Linked DNA regions of Homo sapiens: all the other regions are linked to region 3. Evidence: promoter capture Hi-C in human tissues and cell types (Jung and others, 2019). All regions are on one chromosome and are shown on one strand. Each heading gives the region's core, a stretch centred on a gene start or on the middle of the fragment in contact. The rest is flanking DNA. Distances are from core to core; before and after follow the strand shown. Region 1 has its middle 110 kb from the start of RNF152. Region 2 overlaps RNF152 (ring finger protein 152). Region 3 holds the start of RNF152 (ring finger protein 152). Region 4 has its middle 46 kb from the start of LINC01544.

The links. Contacts are between HindIII fragments. The study calls those that stand out against the background at their distance.
Region 1: a contact is called between a fragment that was not itself captured here and the fragment with the promoter of RNF152 in region 3, in 7 of the 25 tissues and cell types used here (H1 embryonic stem cells, IMR-90 fibroblasts, aorta and 4 more).
Region 2: a contact is called between a fragment that was not itself captured here and the fragment with the promoter of RNF152 in region 3, in 3 of the 25 tissues and cell types used here (IMR-90 fibroblasts, lymphoblastoid cells and stomach).
Region 4: a fragment that was not itself captured here is called in contact with the fragment with the promoter of RNF152 in region 3 in 8 of the 25 tissues and cell types used here (H1 embryonic stem cells, adrenal gland, aorta and 5 more).

Annotation. Positions count from the first base shown.
Region 1 is chr18:61,999,821-62,005,576 of GRCh38, forward strand. No RefSeq gene overlaps it. Among named protein-coding and RNA genes, the nearest start is that of RNF152, 110 kb to the left of the region's middle. RefSeq lists enhancers at 905-1,744, 1,745-2,583. The HindIII fragment of the contact is 3,662 bases long and covers 677-4,338 here.
Region 2 is chr18:61,808,901-61,814,467 of GRCh38, forward strand. RNF152 (ring finger protein 152) reads right to left here. Exons shown (of 2, transcript NM_173557.3): 2 at 1-5,567. Among named protein-coding and RNA genes, the nearest start is that of LINC01544, 64 kb to the left of the region's middle. The HindIII fragment of the contact is 4,940 bases long and covers 752-5,567 here.
Region 3 is chr18:61,890,703-61,896,601 of GRCh38, forward strand. It overlaps RNF152 (ring finger protein 152), which reads right to left and starts at 2,305. Exons shown (of 2, transcript NM_173557.3): 1 at 2,093-2,305. LOC105372159 (a long non-coding RNA gene) reads left to right here and starts at 3,851. Exons shown (of 3, transcript XR_935562.3): 1 at 3,851-4,018. RefSeq lists silencers at 3,491-3,640, 3,711-3,860. The HindIII fragment of the contact is 14,100 bases long and covers 1-5,899 here.
Region 4 is chr18:61,790,924-61,796,473 of GRCh38, forward strand. No RefSeq gene overlaps it. Among named protein-coding and RNA genes, the nearest start is that of LINC01544, 46 kb to the left of the region's middle. The HindIII fragment of the contact is 3,874 bases long and covers 2,017-5,550 here.

The DNA.
Region 1 (5,756 bases), core at 1,258-3,757, 110 kb after region 3:
CACATGGCCATGGAGGGGACAATGTGTTAGGCCATTTCTGCATTACTATAAAGGAATACCTGAGACTGGGTAATTTATAAAGAAAAGGGGTTTAATTGGTTCATGGTTTTGCAGGCTATATAAGCATGGCACCAACATCTGGTCAGCTTCTAGTTCAGGCCTCAGGAAGCTTACAATCATGGCAGAAGGTGAAGCAGGAGCAGGCATATCACATGGTGAGAGCAGGGGCAAGAAAGAGAAGGAAGAGGTTTCAGACTTAAACAACCAGATATTATGTGAACTCAGTGAGAACTCACTCATCACCAAATGGATGGTGCTAAGCCATTTGATATGGTTTGGCTGTGTCCCCACCCAAATCTCATCTTGAATTCCCACATGTTGTGGGAAAGACCTGCTGGGAGGTAACTGAATCATGGGGGCAGGTCTTTCCCATGCTGTTCTCATGATAGTGAATAAATCTCACAAGATCTGATGGTTTTAAAAAGAGGAGTACCACTGCACAAGCTCTCTCTCTTTGCCTACTGCCATCCATGTAAAATGTGACTTGCTCCTCCTTGCTTTCCACCAAGATTGTGAGGCCTCTCCAGCATGTGGAACTGTAAGTTCATTAAACCTCTTTCTATTGTAAATTGCCCAGTCTTATGTATGCCTTTATCAGCAGCATGAAAATGGACTAATACATTGTTCATGAGGGATCTGCCCCCATGATCCAATCACCTCCCACTAGGACCCACCTTCAACATTGGGAATCACATTTCAATAAGAGATTTTGAGGGGACATACATCCAAACCATATCATTCCACCCTTGGCCCTCCCAATTTCATGTCCTTCTCACATTTCAAAATACAATCGTGCCTTTGCAATAGTCCCCCAGAGTCTTAACTTGTCCTCACCTTAACTCAAAAGTCCCAAAGTCCAAAGTCTTATCTAGAGATGGGTTCCTTCCACCTATGAGGCTGTGATATCAAAAGCAAATTATTTACTTTCAAGATGCAATGGTAGTATAGGCATTGAGGATACAGTCCCATCCCAAAAGGGAGAAATCAGCCAAAGAAAGGGGTAATAGGCCTCAAACAAGTCTGAAACCCAGTTGGGCAGTCATTTAATCTTAAAATTCTAAAATAATCTTTGACTCTATATCCCACATCCTGGGCACAATTGTGAAAGGGGTGGGCTCTCAAAGCTTTGGGCAGCTCTGTCTCTGTGGCTTTGCAGGGTGCAGCCCATGTGGCTGTTCTCATGGGTTGGAATTGAGTGCTTGTGGCTTTTCCAGACAGAGGATGCAAGCTGCCAATGAATCAACCATTCTCAGGTCTGGAGGGTGGTGGCCTCCTTCCCACCACTCCACTAGGCAGTCCCTTGGTAGGCACTCTGCATGAAGTCTCCAACCCCACGTTTCTCCTTTGCACCACCCTAGTAGAGTTTCTCTGGTGGGGGCTCCACCTCTGCAGAAGGCTTCTGCCTGGGCACCCAGGCTTTTCCACCCATCCTCTGAAATCCAGCTGGAATCCTCCAAGCCTCCTTCACACTTAACACCATGTGGAAACTGCCAAGGCTTGTGGCTTGCACCCTCAAGAGCTGTGGCTCAAGCTTTACCTGGACTCCTTTGAGCTGCAGCTGCAGCTGGAGTTGGAGCAGTTGGAATGCAGGGAGCAGTGTCCTGAGGCTGCACAGGGAAGCAGAGCCCAGGGCTTGACCCCTGAAACCATTCTTTTCTTCTAGGCCTCTGGGTCCATGATGGAAGGGGCTGCCTCAGAAATCTCTGAAATGCCTTCCAGGACTTTTCCCATTGTCTTGGATATTAGCACTTGGCTTCCTTTTAGTCATGCTAATCTAGCAAGTGGTTGCTCCACAGCCCACTTGAATTCCTCTCCTGAAAATGCTCTTTTTTCCTCTATCACATGGCCAGGTTGTGACTTTTCCAAATTTTTACACTCTGCTTCCCTTTTAAATATAGGTTCCAACTTTAAATCATTCTTTTGCTCCTACATCTGATCCTGGCTATTGGAAGGAGCCAGGCCACAACTTGAATGCTTTACTATTTAGAAATTTCTTCCACCAGATACCCTAAGTCATCACTGTTAAGTTCAAACTTCCAGAGCCCTAGGACATGGACACAATGCAGCTAAGTTCTTTGCTAAAACATAAAATGGGTGACCTTTGCTCCAGTTCGCAATAACTTCCTCATTTCCATCTGAGACTTCATCAGTCTGGACTTCACTGTCCATATCTCTATCAGCATTTTGGTCACAACCACCTAACCAGCCTCTAAGAAGTTCCAAACCTTCCTTTGTCTTCCTGTCTTCTTTTGAGCCCCCCAAACTCTTCTACCCTCTGCCTGATACCCAGCTCCAAAGCCACTACCACATTTTCAGGTATCTTTATATCAATGTCCCATGCTTCAGTATCAATTTTCTGTATTAGTGCATCCTTGTGTTACTATAAAGGAATATCTGAGACCAGATAATTTAAAAAGAAAAGAGGTTTAATTGGCTCACGGTTTTGCAGGCTATACAAGCATGGTATCAACATCTGCTAGGCTTCTGGTGAGAGCTTCAGGAAGCTTACAATCATGGTGGAAGACAAAGTGGAACCAAGAACAACATGTGGCTAGAGCAGGAGCAAGAGAGAGAAGGGGGAGGTCCCAGACTCTTTTAAACAATCAGATCTTGCACGAACTAACTGAGCAAGAATTCATTCATCACCAAGGGGATGGTGCTAAGCCACTCATGAGGGATTCTCCCCCATAACCCCCGACCAGACCCCACCTCCAACACTGGGCATCACATTTCAACATGAGATTTGGAGGGGACAAACATCTAAACCATATCAGACAGGGAGTGCACTCTATACAGATGAAGAAGCAAGTGCCAAAGTTCTGAGGCAGGAACACGTGTAGCATACTTGAGAAGCACCAAGGAAGCTGATGCTACTAATATGAAGCATCAGAGATAAAGTGAGCCAGTCAGAAGCAAGCCAATCCCATAGGCCTGTGTAGACTATTACTATTTGAGAAATTGAGGTTTTACTCTACATGAGACAGGAGATAACTGATGGTTTTCGAATAAGGAGTGACATGATCTGACTTCTATTTTCAAATATTCATCTGACTGCTGTGTTGAACTAGACTATAGGGGGTGGAACAAGGACAGACACAGAGAGACCCATTAGACCGGAGGCTAGGTGATACTCCACACAAGAGATGAGGGTACTCTGAAACAGGGTTATCGGAGAGAAAATGGTAAGAAGGTATATTCATTTCTTATAACAAAGTACTGCAAACTTGGTGATATAAAGCAACAGACATTTATTCTCTCACAGTTCTGGAGGGCAGAAGTCCCAAATCAGCATTGTTGAGCCAATATTTAGGTGTCAGCAAGGTGCATGCCCTTCAGAAGCTTAGTGGGGAATCTGTTCTTTGGCTCCTGCAGCCTCTGGTGGATGTTGGCTTGTGGTTGCATCACTCCAGTCTTCAAGGCCAGCATCTTCTCATCTCTTTTCTCTCTCTTGCCTCTCTCTTCCTCTCTCTCTCTGCTCCATCATCCCCTTCTCCTCTGTATCTATCAAGACTCCCTCCACCTCCTTTTTGTAAGGATACATGTCATTGTATTTAGGTCCCACCTGAATAATCCAGGATCATCCCCTCATCTCAATATCCTTAATCACATCTGCAAAGACGTTCCCCCCTCCCTTTTAAGTAGCTATATAAAATAACATTTACAGATTCCAGAGATTAGGATATGAAAGTCTTTTGGAGAGCATTTTTTCAGCTTATTATAGAAGGGATCAGAAAATGAATTTTTTTAAAGGAATAACCTGTAGGATTTTTAGATTACTTTTTGAGTGGGAGAGAAAGAAATAAGGTGACCCCAAAGCTTTTGGTCTTTGCACTATTTCTCAGAGGCAGATTCTGGAAAAATAGGTTCAGATAAGAGGACGAACTCAGTTTTGGAGATGTTAAATGTGAAAACCCTATAAAATATACAAATCGTGCTTTAATAGGGAGTTAGACTTAAGTCTGGATTTCAGAGAAGGTCAGACAGGGCCTATACAGTTGTGAATCATTGGTATACAGGTAGAATGTAAAGCCATAAGACAAAGTGAGGCTACACAGTGTGGCAGTCTGAAACTGTGTTAAGTTGGCTAAACTGTAATTACATGTCCAGAACTTCTTTCCTTGTACGGTTATACATTAGCATTGACCAAGAAAGAACTTCTCATAAGACTGGAAGGTAGAAGTGAAGCAGCTGCCATTGTTCTTCCAGGGGTGTCTGATTAGATACTGAGGGAGACAGACAGAGAGGGGCGGGGGACTCCAGCCTCTCGGTCTTCCCCACACTGCATCCAGCTTCTCCTGTGACAACAGCAGCCCCAGGCCCACCAGCCAGCTTGGCGGCAACAGCCTTCCCCGGACATCTATGTCTCTCCTTCCCAGTCCCACTTTTGCAGCTGGGTGTGCCTTTGGAAGCACAAACTCGTCCGCCCACCCCAGTGCTTCAGGAGGGCTGGTAGTGACTTTTCTCTCATCTCTTCAACTCCCCCTTTCAGACCCTTCCTTCCCTAGCTTCTTACACAATTGTATGAGGTCTTACTCCAATAACAAGCCCCATTCAGTAATACTCATCATGATTCTGCTTCCCTGATTAAACCCTGACTACCTGTATCTATGGAGTGAATCTAGATGGTGACAAGTCTGAGAACCGAATCCTGGGACACCCCAAAGTTTGGAAATGAGAGAGAAAAGGAAGAATCGAGGAAGAAAACTAAGCAGGAATGATCAGTGGGCAGAAGAGCCTGAAGCTTATACAATTTTGGCATCCATCTTAAAGAAAAAGTATATAAAATTAAAATTAAATACAAATATGAATATACATTTAGAATGGGAAAAATCACATCAAATTGCAGTTTTTAAAAGCTGACAAATATAATAAATAATGTGAAGGTCCTTTAGGTCCCACCTGGATAATCCAGGACAATATCCTCATGTCAAGATCCTTATTTTAATCACATCTGCAAAACTCCTCCCCTCTTTAAAAATAGCTATTTAAGGTAACATTCATAAATTCCATAATATTTTTGATTATTTAACTGCCTGATACACTCCTACATTTGTATCTTTACGTATTTGGGCTGCATACTTTTAAAATAACTCTTTATATTTCAGTTGTTTTTTACCGTTATTTTCTATAAGGAAAGTAGAAAAATAATCACTTTTCCTTCTGGCATGATTGAGCACAGTTTTTAAATTATTCTTAGCTTGTAAGCATAAAATGCATAAAATCAGTGTCTTCACACACAAACTTCCTTGGTGTCTATAGTCCTGATAGAGTTTAAGCAATCCTTAATTAAAACAACCTGATTCAAAAGTAAGCAAAGGACTTAAATAGACATGCATTAGTCCCTTTTCATGCTGCTGATAAAGACATACCCAAAACTGGGAAGAAAAAAAAGAGGTTTAATTGGACTCACAGTTCCACATGGCTGGGGAGGCTGCAGAATCATGATAGGAGGCAAAAGGCACTTCTTACATGGTGACGGCAAAAGAAAATGAGAAAGAAGCAAAAGAAGAAACCCCAATAAACCCATCAGGTCTTGTGAGACTTATTCACCATCATGAGAACAGCGTGGGAAAGACTGGCCCCCATGATTCAATTACCCGCCTGGGTCCTTACCACAACATGGGGGAATTCTGGGAGATACAATTCAAGTTGAGATTTGGGTGGGGACACAGCTAAACCACATCATTCCACCCCAG
Region 2 (5,567 bases), core at 1,972-4,471, 81 kb before region 3:
ATAGGGTGATAGGGAAAATGGGGACTCCTTGGACCCTCATGAGCTGAGCACATTACCCCACATGTCTTCAACTGAAGCATCCTGAATTGAACTTGGTAGTCCGTACTGGAATGACAGATTGTGCTTGACTAAGTTGTCCTAGTTGTCCTGTGCTTCTTTCTCCAGCTGGTTTCTGCCATATCTGGCCTTCAGCTCCTATATGTCTTGTTTTGCAGCTATACTCTTCCTTTATTAAGTATTTTCTCCCTCTTTGGGTATATCTGCCTGTCCCTTCACATAGACCCAGTGCTTCATGTCTCCCTTTCCCTCTCCCTCTCCCTCTACTTAATAGTTGCATTGTCCCTCAACCCAGAAAATCCTATGAGGATTTGTAAATGAAATCCTCATAGGATTTTCCTAAAGCACAGTGTAAGGTACCAGCTACTGTGTTCTCCCACTATTTAACAGAGGTATCAACTAGATCCCCTTTAAGAGGCATTTGTCATCTCTATTTCCTTCTGCTTACAGCCCATGCTCTTCCACCACTATTATATCCAACTGTCTACTTCTGGATTTTCAAAAAGCAAATGTTGAATTAAAAATGGGCCATCCCTTTGGAAAACTCCTGTTAGAATAACCCAATAACTCACACCCCAAGGAGATTACAGAAGACTTTCACATGGGCTACTAGCCCTACATCCCATGGAAATAAATTTGGAGCAGTGTTCTAGAACAAAGACAGCTACAGGGAAGCACTCCCACAAAAACAAAGAAAATGCATGCTGTTGCAGACTTCAAGAGGTCCCTCAGTACTCTGCCCCAAATATTACTGATTGTCCCTAAAAATATCATAGTATGAATAATATAAAAAACCTTAGATTAGAATAATAAAATCGAGCTAATGAGATGAGTATTTCAAGCACCACTACATCATAGGTGAGATATATATAGTGGGATACCCCAGGCAGTGAATCCTGAAAAAAAAAAAAAAAAAAAAAGTCATTGGCTCGACTGAGCAAGAAAATTTGTGCAGAAAAATGGGAACCAAATTGCAGGGATTCGGGAATAATGGTGCACTCGCCCTAACCACTTGAGCAGATCCAAAAAATAAGGTATTTGGAAGAAATTAAATGCCCCACCTGCTTAAGTTCTTCAATGATTAATGGCTTTCCAATAAAATGTATACAGTAGAACCTACCTCTTCATATATTTGAAAAGTTTCAAGTGTTTATATAGACACTCCCAAAGGTAGTTAGTTTGACATAATGTATGCAGCCCATAGCAACAGTTAAGAAATTAGCATCTAATCCAATATTGTATAACTCACAAATTGGAAAACATGACTAATAACAGTTTTTTACTGAATTTTAACTCCAATTACAGCTAAATCGTGGTGTGTGTGTGTGTGTGTGTGTAGTAAGTCAGTTGTGTCAGAAAAATCAATGGCTTGAATTTCCACTTATCTTTTAGAAGTGTTTCATGTTGGCTGGGTGCAGTGGCCCATGCCTGTAATCCCAGCACTTTGGGAGGCCGAGGCGGGTGGATCGCCTGAAGTCAGAAGTTGGAGACCAGCCTGACCAACATGGAGAAACCCCGTCTCTACTTTAAAAAATACAAAATTAGCTGGGCATGGAGGCGCATGCCTATAATCCCAGCTACTCAGGAGGCTGAGGCAGGAGAATAGCTTGAACCTGGGAGGCGGAGGTTGCAGTGAGCTGAGATCATGCCATTGCACTCTGGCCTGGGCACCAAGAGCAAAACTCCATCTCATAAATAAATAAATAAATAAATAAGTGTCTCATGTTGAACAAAATCCAGCAACTGAACATCGTTGCTTTTTAAATAGACTACTACTTTCAAAACAGCTACTGAATTATCTCGACTATCTTATTATTCTCAATAGTTTCTGTTTTGGTAAGAATTACCTTGTAGGTGACAATTTACTGAGAATGATGGAAATGTCAAGGAACAGCTTCTCTATCTAAGTCAGGGATGACAGACTGACTACCTGACACTTCTTATGTGGAAACAAAATGCTGACTGGTGGGCAGCATCACTTTTCTGAGAAAAGATAGAAATTGAAGTCTTTTGTGTATCACTCCTTTTGCACCGATAACTTTTGAACTTCTATCTTCCTATTAAGGCTAAAGAAAGATTAGTATCTTGGCAAAAAAAAAAAAATTAAATGATTTTTAAAGGCAAGCTAAGAAGGAAAGTCTTGCACATTGATGAGTTCTAGAAAAAAAAAATCAACCCATTTCTGCTAAAATGAAGTAAATGTATTTTGTATATATTCCATTTGGAAAACAATGAAAAGCAGACTAACCAATTTTGAAACAACATAAGTTTTCAAATAAAGGGATGGGAACTCTTAAAATCAAAATCTAGACTGGAATAAATACCAGATTATCAGTAAGAATCTGGTCTTTATAGGAAATATATCTCAAACTGAATTTTCTGCTTCCTTTTATTTAGCTAAAAAGTAATTATTGTAGCTTTAGTAAACTTCAAGTCTTTAAATTTCATGGGCAGTATTTTTTACTGTTAAAAAAAGTGCTTTTGTGCAAAGCTTCAAATCTTCAACTCTTTCAGGGATAACTGAAATTTTTGCTTAAAAAAGAAAGACACTAAAACAATGTCAAATCTCATTCTAAAAATACTACCTACATTTTAGTTTGGCATCTGAAAAATGATGCCCACATATGCCCACACCAAATACAACGACAAGCTGGCCAACTTCAAGGGCAAACAAAACCAGTCTGAACACTGCAAAACATGCTTGCTCTTATATTTGCACCTTACTAATACAGCAATGAAGTTTGGATAGGATACTGGAAGTGAACAGGGATTTCATTAGGCTTTTTTTTTCCTGTAACATTTACTTTTTGGCCACAAGACCCTAGACACAATTTCACAGTACAGATCATGCATAGCTTGCAAGTCAAACGTTTTACAGGTACTGTCTAACTACTATTTTTGGACAATAGGTTAACATGCAGCTAATGATCCCAGAAAAGGGGCTTAATAAAGCATTCTTTAAGCTTCACTGATCATTCCTTGGCCTAAAATCTATAAGCAACAGTTCCAAAGGGCAACAATGAATTTTTACTGTCATACTTGAGATCACATACTTTTTAAGCCCAGAAAGGAATGTTTTGCCTTTTGCCAACTGCATGTCACTAGCCCACAAACTCTCACCTTAGCCTCACTGTTACTCCATTAATACCTTGATGCTGGATCCCCAAGCGCTATCACCCAGAACTGCATCGTTCAATATGGCAGCCACTAGACACATAGGGCTATTTAAATTTAAGCTAATTAAAATTAAATAAAATTTGAAATCCAGTTCTTCCCTTGTAGTAACCCCATTTTAACTGCCTAAAAGTCAATGTGCCTGGTGGCTACCGTACCAGACGGCACAGGTTTTCGAGCATTTCCATCATCACAGAAAGCCCTATTGAACAGTGCCAATCTAGAAGATCTCACAGGTTATACCATCACATGGTTTAACCTTCAAGGGACCCAATCTGTAAGCCATGCAAAAAATTAAACTTAATTCTATTTTTAAAGAAAACATCTTAGAGCTTTCTGATCATTAAGTATGACTGGAACCAAAAACCAAGTTGCCTTTTCATCACAACTTATGCCCCAAGTCATTATACAAAATTTTTCCAAAGACAATGCTTCTTAGTAGCATTCTTGGCTCTACTTAACATATTAAGCATTCTCTTCCTTATTTCAAGATCATTAATAAAGATGAAAATTCATGCTTCTTATAGTTTACTATTTATACAACACTCACTGTCCTTTACATACAAGTGGGGTGGGAGGTTTGGACACCAATGTTTTACAATTTTAAAAATTCAAACCACATGGTTTGATAGTTGTCTTTCAACATCTATACTCATCCCTAAGTCAACCCTCCTTTCATTTTCCCAGAGAGGTAGATGCTAACTAAAATGAGTACATAAACCTACAAAAAAAATTCTTTAAAGCAATAGTTGACTCAGTAAAGGGTATTCATCAACCCTAGAAAGGATCATAGCCAGATAGAGATATAGACAGACCTAGGATGGAGCAAGAAGACACTGCAGTGCGAAGTTCATATCCCCCCCTTTCTGCAGAATTACAAAACGGACTCATCTACAAAATGAAGCCACCGGAGGCTGCTTTCAGCTCTTTCTGTGCTTTCCAGTTGTGACTTTTCATTAATGTGCAAGTATGAATCCTGGCCTCTTGTGTCAGTGGACTTTGGTCACATGGGTAGATGTGTTTGTTAAGGGTCATTGGTAAATGCCAGAAGAGGCCAGAGCAATGGGATGCCAAGCAACATTAAAACATCATTAAGCCTATAAAATTCTATCTGGGAGACTGAGATTCTCTCTCTCTCTCTCTCTCTCACACACACACACACACACACACACACACACACACACATACACAAGAATGCACACCCCAACAAACAGGTACACAAATAACTGCAAGCAGATCCATTTAAACAATTTAAACAATGTTTCTTAGGTCAGTAAGACTCACAAAAAAAATCTGATTTTGGTTGTTGTTGTTAAATTTAAGGTCAAGAATCTACCATACAGCCGATTAATTTTGCACTGCTTAATGGCAACTCTAGCATGGGATTGTTTTTAAGTAAAAGTTCTATGGACATTTTTACTCTACAGATTTGCACTAAGAAACACAGGACACTATCATCACACACATTAGTGTCTATATCTAACCTACTTTAACAAGTAGAACTCTATCACGTACTATACTACAGGGTCAGTCATTTCACACTGTACAGAAACATATGCAGATATCACTCACAAAATTAATCTGAATATGGCATAGCTTAAAATTGCAAGGGCAAAGTCTATTCGAAATGTAGCATTCTTAATGCAACACTTCTGTGGTGTGTGTGTGTGTGTATTTTCCTCCAAGAGAAATAGAAATTAGGTCAGACATGCATTATGGCAGCCTGGGAGAGTTTGAGAAATTGACACTAACCCAACAGTATATTATGTTATGTAATAGAGGATAGTATTCAGCTAATATGACACCTAAATTATTAATACCAAATAAATCCTAGATTATTTGTTGTATAATGCCCAAGAGCTTACACAATAAAATGGCATTTTAACCTAATTTCTATTTTGAGCTTTCAAATACATTTCCTAAAGGTTTTATGATCAATTTGAAAAATCAGAGCTCACAATTTTATGTTGAATTCTCATGCCAATTAGCAGTATTAGCTTTGTATTCTAGCCATTATATTTTTGTTTTATTTCACATTAATTCCATCACTTTTATATGCATATTTTGTGCTGCTTGAAGATAACAGACAGCATGTAAATAAATTAAATTGTCTTGACCTCACAGGGCTATTTTCTAGCCTTGCTTTTTGGAATTAGCCCTGCTTGTCTTTCCTTCACTTCCCCCCACCCTCCTCACCATTTTCAGGGATTCAGTGGAACATAAAAACAGTTATATTTATAAGTGGAGTCCTTGTCACATACCACTTGCTTCATGAATTCCATAAAAGAAGTTAGATGAGAGCTGTAAAGCTCACAGCTATTTCTGAATGCACATGC
Region 3 (5,899 bases), core at 1,055-3,554:
AATTCAACTTCATCAGGAACTGAACACTACCTTGAAAAGCAGAGGGTGCTGACAGCATAGGTGGGTTCAAACAACTCTGAGGGAATTAGAAATGAAAACAGAATGACCCTCAACAATGTAAGGACCGAACTGTATGGAATTCAGCTAAAAAGACTACAATGAAAATGCCACCTTCTGACAACAGCAACAGCCATTTATGAAGCAGTGAGCTCCTCAATGAAAGAGGCATTAAAGTTGAGGCTGGATGACCATATTTTCTCTCCCCAGAAGTCCAATCCTACCTCTCTTGAGCTTCCATTGAAGTTAATTAGAATCAGGTCTTCCTATAGGGAGTTCAATTTTGTGTCTCCCCCTACACCCAACCCCAACCCCTTGAGTCCATTATCTATCACAGAGTCCATTATCTATCAGGTGCCAATAAACATCTGCTAAATGAATAAATGAGCATTGTAGAAAGGAAGCAGGCATTGGAGGCAGAGATCAGCCTAATAGCCTCTAGGGATCCTCCAGCCTAAAGCTAAACACATCTGAGGGTGGGGAGCCTCCTTCTTATATAAAAAAAATTAAGCATCAATGGACACTTTATTATGATTTATTACTGTACACAATTTAAAACCACAATGAAACCTAACACTGCACTGTGGCTATCTTTGTTCTTGGACGTGCATTTACATGGGCAGGCTACTGTTTTGCCATGTGGAATTTTGTGTGCGAAGTGTTTATTCTTTCTATTAAAAAAAAAACCACACCCTTGTTTCTATTGCATTATTACATTCCCTATTATCCCATCACATGTTTTTTCTTCTTGCAGCAACACAGTACACACCCTGTACTATTGCTGACATAAAAATTACTTGTCAAAAATACCTCTATCTTAGCACCACATTACTCATCTGATCTTTGCAAAGCACTGGCCTTTGTTTCACCTGGGACTAGATAACTCAACTGCTTTTACTAGTGACTCCTGAATGCTTGTAGTAGAAGGATAAATGCTAGTGTCACCTATGTTTTTAAAGTCACCTTCCAAAACAAAACTACATTGGAGGTGAATAATAAATCTTTCAAGTTTTTAACTTCATTTTTCAAGGGATTTGGAGGAAAATGGTGAAGAGAGAATCTGTCACAGATACCAAGGTGTTACTGCAATGTAAAAGAGAGTAGACCAGGAGCCTTTGGCCCTCAGCAATCTGTCTTCCTACAAGAAAAATCGAAAGCCCATTTCCATAACCATTCTTATTCCCTGCTACTAGTGTAGGATGCGCAGGACTCTGCCCTCTAGCAGAAAATGCTAATGCCGGAGTGTCCTGCTAAGTCTGAAGGTTACGTTTTTTCATTGCACTCTTATCAAGATAACCCCAGATCTGGCTAGGCTGACATCAAAACAGAACTATCCTTGGAAAGAAAAGAACAGGCCAGAGTTTTTGGAAAAGCCCCAATAACCTAAAGATAAAATCCAGAATGAGAGTCTACTGGTTCATGGCTATCTAAATGGAAACTTCACTCAAGCTGTTTTCTCTGTTCTCTTTCTGCTGCCCCCAACAGCCCTCCCTTCCACCTCCCAGTACTCACTGCTAGCATGTCTCTCTTAATATTGCAAACACTATTACAATGAAGGAACAGAAGAAAGACAGTATTTCATACGAAGGTCACTGCATTTGACCGGTGCTCAATTAGAGCACTGGGCAAAAGTACAATCAGCCTTCCAATGATACCTTTTCAACAAAGGATACCCCACCTCTAGACTGAAGCCTAAATCTATTACTACAGATAAGAAAGCAGGCATCTATGGAAACCTAACATTCAGATACAACTGCCTGTGTATGAATTATATCAAAATTCCCATGAAAGGAAACCAGGTGGGATTTCTACAATCCCAAATTCACCCTGCACCTACCTCCAATGGCTTCTTCAAAGGGAAGGTATAAAGTCATTTGCAATTTATTTCTTTGAACCAGGAGTTTTAGCAGCCCCCACACCTTCTCACAGATAGGAACGATGTTGATGCAGAAACCACCCAAACAGCCCTGTGCCAGCACTGTCGGCCCAAATGACCCAGAGACACCCAGGCGCTACCCAGATCGTGGGGGGTTACCTGTATCTGTCACCGAGTCTCTTTCACCCCTTCTGCGTGATGACATCAAGTGGAAATGGTACACGTTTAGGAGGCAAGAGGCTGACAGGCAGGAAACACAATTGAGACTGAGCTTTCTTCAGCCTGCAGTGAAATACATGCAGGAAGGGTTAGATACGCGCCGCGGAGAAGGAAATCCAAGCGCCCTCCTGGGCAGACGGGGCTGGAGCGGGTGCACTAGGGAGGTGGAGCAAGGCAGATGAGGTGTGGAGGGCTGGCGGCCGAGAAGGGGGCGTCACGGCTCCTAATTGTCTCTACAGGATAAATAACCACCTCCCCCCTCCTCCGCAGTCTCCCCCGCCCACGAGTTCCCCTCTGGTGGCAGAGCGCCTACTAGCAACAGTAAGCCCTAGGAAAGAAAGAAATCGGAGCAGGTGGGGAATAACATCTTGGGGCAAAGACACACTGGCAAAATCTACCAGGTAACCCGGTCATATGGGAATGCGGGGCGCCTAGTCAGCCGCGCAGACAGGCACACAGCGCGGCAATCCCGAGCATCTTTCTTTCGTTTGCCCCTGTCCGCCACCTCATCAAGTCACCGCCACCTCATCAAGTCACCGTCACCTCATCAAGTCACCGTCACTCTGCTTTGGCGATTTCTCTACTCTCTCCAGACCCAGGCAGCGCTCCCCAAGCCATGCCCCGACCCCAGGCGGGATTGGGGACCGCCGCTTCCCGAGCAGCGCCCCACGAGTCCAGCTGGCTTTGTCCTGCCGCTGTCCTTCCAGGAGCAAGCGCCCCAGGCGCGTGTGTCTGCACAAAAGACCCCCAACATCTGGCCCTTCACAGCGCTCTCTAATCCCGGGAGGGGCCCTGGGGCAACTTCTAGGGCTGGAGAAGGCGCGAGACAAGGGGACCGGGAGAAGATGAGCCGGGGTGTGTGCGGGCCGGGGGCGCAACTGGGGCGGGCGCGCGCGCACGTGCACACCCAGGGGCGCGCGCGGCGCGGGCACGAGGAAAGCTCCCTCGGACCGGAGCTCCAGGGGGCATCCGAGGACTCGGCCGAGCAGCCGACAGCGCCGCTCCCCGCCGCGGCCGCCCGCCCAACTCCGCCAGCTCTCAGGAGACACGCAACTCCCGGGACCACCTCCCCCGTGCCCCGCCAGACCCCGCGCTCCCCTCCCCGGGACCCTGCGGCCCCGCCACCCCCTCCGCGGTCCAGAAGATCTCCCCAGTTACAGCAGGCGGCAGCTGCCCTTTCCCGCTTCCACGGCTTCGGCGCGGCCGCCGTAGGGGCGCAGACATCCCTGCGCACCCCTCTGTCCGCCCCCGATCCGGAGCCGGCAGAGCAGAGAAACAAACCGAAACTCACTGACCTTTCTCCGCGGCGGGCTCGGGTGCTCGCTACAGAGGCGGCGGCGGCGGCGACAGCATCGCCGGGTGGTCCCGGCGCGCCCGCTCCTTTCAGCCAGACTCGCGCCCCGGGCCGGCGGCCGCCGCTCCTCCGGCCGAGAGCCACGGGGCGGACGCTGACAGCGCGGCGGCGGCGCCTGCAGCCCCAGCACCCGGCCCGGCCCTTCGGGCGGCACCCCCACCTGCCCGGCCGCCCTCCGCGTTCGCGGTCGGACACCGCCGCCAGGCGCTCGGCACCGAGCGAGAGCTTTTTGTGTCACTGAGACTCCGGCACCAAAGGGGGTGGGGGGAGAGGCTGGGCTCCGCTCCCCGCGGCACCGCCCTCCCCGGCGGCTCCACCCCCTCCTCCCCGCCCACAGCCCGGCGGGCCCGGGACTTCTCTCCGTCAGTCCCGAATCGCCCACCTCCCCCGGGGTGAGGGGCTGCCTACCCTCTCTCGCGCGCTCCCTCGGCTTTGCCCCCAGTGCCTACCCTCGGCCAGGACCTCGACGCCGTCTCTCTACCGTGCAAAAGCGGGACCTGAGCTGGCGGCAGGTGTGAAAGGAGGCCTGGGCAGCCGGGAGGAGGGGCAGGGCCGGGAAGGGGGCCGGGGCCGCGGTGGGTGGGTTGGGGGGTGCCCAGTCTGTGCCTAGGACCCGGACAGCGAGAGGGAGGAGCTGAGATCATCAGGTTTCCAGAAGCTGCCCTGCATCCTCGTCACCGGATACTTTTTGGCTGCCCCTAAAAGTTCACGTAGTCCAGCCAGGGTGGGGCCCCGCTTTCCAAAGAGGCCCGAATGGACACCCCACTACTTGAATCCCTCGAATGGGGGACAAGAAGCAGGGGAGTAAAGAGATGCAAGTCCTAGGGGTTATATGGAAGCGCGAACCCCACGGAACCTCGGGGCCCACCCTATTCCACACCTTAAAACCTAACTTCGACCTAGGGAGGTGCTTAGAATGTCTTGTTCCCCGGAGAAAATCTCCCGCCTCTTGAGTTAACTGCGAAATAGGAGAATGGAGGAGAAAGGTCCTTGGTAGAAGATAGTTCCATGCCCTTTGGTGCCTTTTTAAAGGATTTCTCTGCAGCATGAAAACCTAAAACTCTCTTCTTGAGATGAAGTTCAGCCTGCGGACGTTACCCGGTCCCCAGCAGCAGGGCTCAGTTGAGTGTGATCCCCACGGATTCCAGCGGCACTTGCTGCCTTTCCCCACTGCTGGAGTGGAGCCGTCTTTGTCTTAAGGTCCGTAGTATCCGCAAGGAAAGAGTCCCCATTTTCACTCCCCCAAGTAGCTTATTGAAATGCTTCTGCCAAGATTTCTTTTTTTACTTTTTCTGTTTTTTTTTTTTTGAAGATGGACTCTCGCTCTGTCACCCAGGCTGGAGTGCAGTGGCGCGATCTCAGCTCACTGAAACCTCCAACTTCCGGGTTCAAGCGATTCTCCTGCCTCAGCCTTCCAAGTAGCTGGGATTACAGGCCCGCACCACCACGTCCTGCTAATTTTTGTATTTTTGGTAGAGATGGGGTTTCGCCATGTTGGCCAGGCTGGTCTCGAACTCCTGACCTCAGGTGATCCGCCCGCCTCGGCCTCCCAAAGTGCTGGGATTGCAGGCATGAGCCACCGCGCCTTTTTTTTTTTTTTTTTTTTTTTTTTTTTTTTTTTTTAGAGGAAGCCCTGTGAGCCAGTGGGGACTCTAGGTAACCTACTATAAAACTCACAATGTACTGAGAGCACTCTTGTCATGTCCCACAATTACGACCTGTTGATGGGGTTTCCAAAAGTGCTGTCCTTAAGCACATACATAAAACTGGTCATCTAGAAACAGATAAAGCTTCATGGGTATCAGTTGTCCCTGGGATCCCAATTAAAACGTTGCCTCCTATGGTCATCTGACTGATCCTTATCCCTTTGTTCACCCAAGCTAAAACCTCCTTCGTACACCTGAAAAGAGTAAAAGCTGTATCCATGTTTTAGAAGCCTAAGGTAATCCTGAAGTAGAAGACTTCAAGAGTCTTTATTTTAAGCCCCAACTTCAGGGCAGGAAGGAGAATTTTTTTTTTTTTTTTTTTTTTTTTGAGACAGGGTCTCACTGTGTTGCCCAGGCTGGAGTGTAGTGGCCAAAATCCTGGCTCACCACAACCTCAATCTCCCAGGCTCAAGCATCCCCCTGCCTCAGCCTCCCAAGTAGCTGGGAGACTTCAGGAGTGCCACCATGCCCAGTTAATTTTTGTATTTTTTTATTTTTGTAGAGATAGGGGTCTCTCTTTGTTGCTCTGGTTTGGTCTTGATCCTGGCCTCAAGTGATCTTCCTGCCTCAGCCTCCCAAAGTGCTGGAATTGCAGGCGTAAGCCACCAAGCCCAGCTCCAGAAATTCACTTTAAGGAGAAGTTAATGAGGGTCTTGAAAACTCTGATGTTGGCAAGGAGTTGGAATA
Region 4 (5,550 bases), core at 2,704-5,203, 98 kb before region 3:
AAATTAGGAAGCCACAATGCACACAAAGCAATGAAGACGGCTCCCAGCATTAATCCTAGTCATTATCACTGTTGCCCATCCCCTATAGTTACAGTAAAGGATGCTTGTCCATGAAAATTTGGGGTGAACGGAAGGTTTGGTGGATCTACAGCAGGCAAGCTGTCTTATTCCGTGTACAACTCAAGCAGAGCATTTGGGGTTAGTTTTAAATTGATGTTTGTTTTCAAAAGAAAAGGAACTTAAAAACAGCCCTGTTCCTTTAAGACTGAGCTATTGCTTCAGAGACCCATCACCTAGCAACAGGAAGATAATCTCTCTCTCTTCCAACAGGTAAACCTCCAGCTTATCTAATTGAAATTTCAGGCTACCTGCCACACTCCTAAAAAACTATCACTTTAAGGGGATCAAATCGTACAAGCCAAACAAAGTCAGATTTGAATATGCTCCTTTTCAAATGGTAGGCTAATGAGATTTTCATTGGGAAAAGAGATATGAAGCTTTACAGCTCATAATTTAAGGAGCTTTGTTCCATTGGCATTCACTGAATCTCACAAAAGAAGTCTGCAACAAAATTCCGATTTGACTTCTGTCTGGGGATCAAAGATAAATGTTAAAGCGGAAACAAAGTGTAAATTGGAAGAAAATAATGAATTATCTAGATTTTTCACCAGGTTATCTTTTATTCCTCCCTCCCTCTTCCCAGACCCTCCCCTGCCACAGTCATCACAAATGCCATCCATTCTGCCTCTCATTTCATGCCTTTCCATTTCACTGCCACTGCACTTTTCAGGGCTCCTAATTGGTCTGTCTGACCAGACTGTCCTGATCTAATCCACCCTTCACATAGTTGGCCAGTGTATTCCTTGCAAGACACAGCCTTTCCTCATTCCACCTCTCTGTTCAAAAGTTTCAATAGCTACTATTGCTTGATTTTAACAAAGTTCAAACTCTTTCGCCTGGCATTTAAGCCTTCTTGTGTGATCTTATCCCAATTTTTCCTTCTCAGCTTATTTGTACCTTTTTTTATCCTCCAATTCCAGACAAGCACAAACTTCTTGTCCTCCCTAATTGTATTCTTAAGTTTTTTTTTTTTAACACCCTGCCTCTGTTTATACTAAGACCTCTTTGAATGTCCTCTCCCTGAATCCAAGTAATTCTGCATACAGTAAAATTAGAGTCAAATGCCACTAGTGAGGCCACTTCCTCCAAGAAGCCTCCCTTAATTTGCCTTCTCCTAAGTAGAAGCAGACTCTTGCCTTCCAGTTACACCTCTGTCGTGATATTTATCAGATTTAGACAAGTCAACAGGGCACAATGGTTAGCAGCACAGTTTCTAGCTGTGTTACCTTGGACAAATCATTTACCATCTTTAAGTCACATCTTATGTTTGTTTGTTTTGAAAAAGGAGGTACCCAGTGGTTGTGAAAGTTAAATAAGTTAAATCGTGGAAAGTATTTAGCCCAGAGCCTGGCAAGTAGCTGACAGTAAATTTTAATTCTTATCATTAAAGAAAATCATATTTAACTTGTATTATAGTCCCTTTGTATATTCCCCATCTCCTTTCTTCATTCTAAAATTCCTTCCTTTGGGGGCAAAATTTATACCATAATCCCATCTTGTCTCACTCCCCACAGTGCCTTCCACACATGAGGACTAAAACACATTTTAAGTGAAAAAAAAATTTATTCAAAATCACACTAATTGGGGCCATGCAAAGCAAGGACTTCCTGTATTTGACTTTACTAGAAAGTATTAAACTACACAGGGTCAAGACATTGAAACTCAATTTTTGCAACATTTTATTTAGTTTCACATTTTTTCTTTAAATTTCAAGAATGTTTTTCCTATTAATATAAATTACTGTGACTTCTCAATAACAATGAACTTCATTTACCCTGTCTTAAAATTTCTGTTTGTCATAGCCTCCCTTCTTCATCTCTGAGCCACCATTCTTCTTAACACATAAGTCATTATCAGTTACAGTTATAATCATAATTAAACATTGATTCACTGAAAATGCTATAGCATGAACTTACACAGCTGCTATCTTCTTTTGGTAAAAATGCCTTTATCATCTTAGGAAAAGCCTCCTTGTGCAAAAATAATCAAGCCAATCCAGAAGCCATGAATTCCTCCCCCAGGACTGAAGGATGAATTTGCATGAGTCCATCACACTTTCTGCCCTTTAAACAAGGACAAGGATTGGCAAAAGGATGAGACATGATAATTTAATGCCATCGGATATGGAAAATGCCTTGACTTCCCGAGAGATGAAGTCCATTTCTTCATCTATGCTCTAGCCATTGATAATCTAGCCAGTCTGCACTCATGAGTTATCTTTGTTCTTAAAGGCAATCCCAAACCTATTGATTTATTATGGACAACAGCTCAATCTATGCTTGTGCAAAACAAAACAAAACAAAAAAAAACAAAAAAACCCACAACATCTTAAGGTATGGTCTATGCACTTGAGGGTCTTACAATCTAGCTGGGGTCATGAGACAGATATATTCATTGACTATGTCTTCAGAAACAGAAATAGAGAGTGAGGCAAAATAATTAAATTTTCTTTTTTAGAAAATATGGAACTTTCTGGCATGCCTACATTACATTATAAAAAATAATATGTGATAAGAACCAAGTGGTATAGACATAATAACTACTACAGGAATGAAGAGATACTAAGGAAGGAAGTTGAAAGACGGAAAAGTTTTACTAAGGAGGTGAGATAAAGGAAAGGTAAGGCCAGGCGCAGGGGCTCATGCCTGTAATCCTAACACTTTGGGAGGCCAAGGCAGGAGGATTGCTTGAGGCCAGGAGTTCGAGACCAGCCTGAGCAGCAAAGTGAGAACTCCATCTCTACAAAAAATGTATTAAAACAAAAACGGAAAGGTTAGACTTAAATCTGATATGGGGAACTCAAATGGCCACAGAGGCCAACCAGAGAACATAAATGAATGAGACTAAGTATAGGATAGAAATATTAATTCTGCACGTCCAGGGAATATGGGGAAGAACCACTACCCACTCTATGATACTCATAACACACATCTTCTGATTTTTCAAGAAAAGTTAGAAATCCAGATATTTGTAAGAAATAGCCAGATTTTAAAATATTGGCAACTAAGAGAAACATGTTTGTAGGTCAAATAAAACACAGTTTCTGGCTGGATGGGACTACCGCTTTGCAGCTCTGACCCAGGTCAGCTAAATGAGCAGCTTTTCCTCTCACACAACACTTTGCATTTCAAATGACTTCAGTTTTAGTGCATGCAGAATATATTTAACCCCGGTTACCCTGATATAGACACAGTGCATTTACTCTGGATAATTCCCTAATTTTAAAGAGGAAACTTAAGATGTTTTTCTCCCTGCCACATGATTTTGCTGTCAACAGTAATTGTTCTGAGCCTCTGGTGCACTGGTAAGAGCTGGTGAAAAAGGCCTTGTCCTGACTAATTAAACTCTGTTTGCTGAGAGCAAGTGTCAGAGTCTCTATTACGCTTCCCACCTCTTTGGCTGCCTCAGGAGGAAGCTTTGGTCTTACAAAACTGCTAGCATTCCTCCTCATTTGCTTTTTATCTTAATTTTTTTTTTTTTTTTTTTTTTGAGATGGAGTCTCGCTCTGTCGCCCAGCCTGGAGTGCAGTGGCACAATCTCAGCTCACTGCAACCTCTGCCTCCCAGGTTCCAGCTATTCTCCCACCTCAGCCTCTGGAATAGCTGGGATTACAGGCATATGCCACCACACCTGGCTAATTTTTGTATTTTTAGTAGAAATGGGGTTTTACCATGTTGGCCAGGCTGGTCTCAAACTCCTGACCTCAGGTGATCCACCCGTGTCAACCTCCGAAAGTGCTGGGATTACAGGCGTGAGCCACTGCGCTCGGCCTATTTTCATTTTTTTTATTGTGGAAAAATAGAAATAATATTTCTCCATTTTTGAGAGTTAGTGCCAAGTCAGCGGCATTAAGTGCATTCACAGTGTTGTGCAACCATCACTACCATCAATTTCCAGAACTTTTTCATCATTCCAAACAAAAACTTGGTACCCACTACACAATAACTTCCTATTTCCCCTCCCCTAGTCCCTGGTAACCTCTATTCTACTTTCTATCTCTACGAATTTGCCTACACTAGAAACATCATAGAAGGGTAATCATTCAATATTTGTCCTTCTGTGCCTCACCTATTTCACTCAGCATGTTTTCAAGGTCATCCATGTTGCAGCATGTATCCCACTTCTAAAAAATATTGTTCTTTTCTCCCATATTTCCTTCACCATTTTCTCTATTTTAGTTGTAAATACATACAAAAGGAATAATGCTTTTGGCATTAAAATGGCCTAATTATACATCGTTCAAAGCTTTAATTCTCTGAAAAGGAAAGGATATTGATTTATCCAAATCTATGGTTTTCAGACAGCTTGGATTTTAACCTTGCCACCATTAGCTACCTATAAGGCCCTAGGAAAATTATTTAACCTTTTTGTGACTTAGCACCCTCATCTGAAAAACCAGGATAATAATAATTCTAATAGCCAATGTCATACATAACATGCATATACATGTACACGGTAGCATGCATTTATTCAGAAAACTTATAGTAATTTCATTCCATTTCAGGGACTGGTTATAGGATAGAGAACTGTTGATCTTTATAAATATGTAAGTATATTTCAGTACTCTGTATAATTTATTTAAATTAGTCCTTATTAGTTAATCCAGACAATTTGCTAACCAGAGACTGATGATTGATAAAGGATTATTAATGGTAAGGATAAGAGCTACCCAAGTCAGGGCACATTTCCCCGTAAGACATACAGTGGCCTCATCTTCAGCCTTCACACTGAAAGTTGGAAACAGAGGACACTACAGAGCAGGCTCACAGGGACAACTCTCAGTAGGGAAGTTGACAAAAATATTTGGAAAGAAAGAAGGAAAAGAGGCAGGGAAGAACAGAAGAAGGAAGGTTGGGAAGGAAGAATCCAGCCTGGTGTGGTGGCCCACACCTGTAATCCCAACACTTTGGGAGGCCGAGGTGGGAGGATCACTTGAACCCCTGAGTTCGAGACCAGCCTGTGCAACATAGTGAGACTCTGTCTCTACAAAAAATCTAAAAATTATCTAGGCATGGTGGTGGGGGCCTATGATCCCATCTACTCATGAGGCTGAGGCAGGAGGATCACTTGAGCCCAGGGGTCGAGGCTGTGATGAGCCATGTTTGCACCACTGCACTCCAGCCTTGGCAACAGAATCAGACCTTGTCTCAAACAAACAAACAAACAAACAAACAAACAAAAAGGAATCCAAGCAGAACAAGCTGCACCATTCAATGTAGGTGCAGAAATCCTGACTTGCCTTTCAATGGCCCCTGAGAGCATCAACTTTTCTGATAGCCAAGGACTAAACAAGGTGGTGTGGACAGAAGGAAAAAATGTGTAAGTAAGATCCTATCCCTCTTTACAGGCAGATCACAATCTAGTAGTGGACAGAGACACATAAGCCAATGAATGCTAAGATGATAAACACAAGAATACAAATCCTTAACG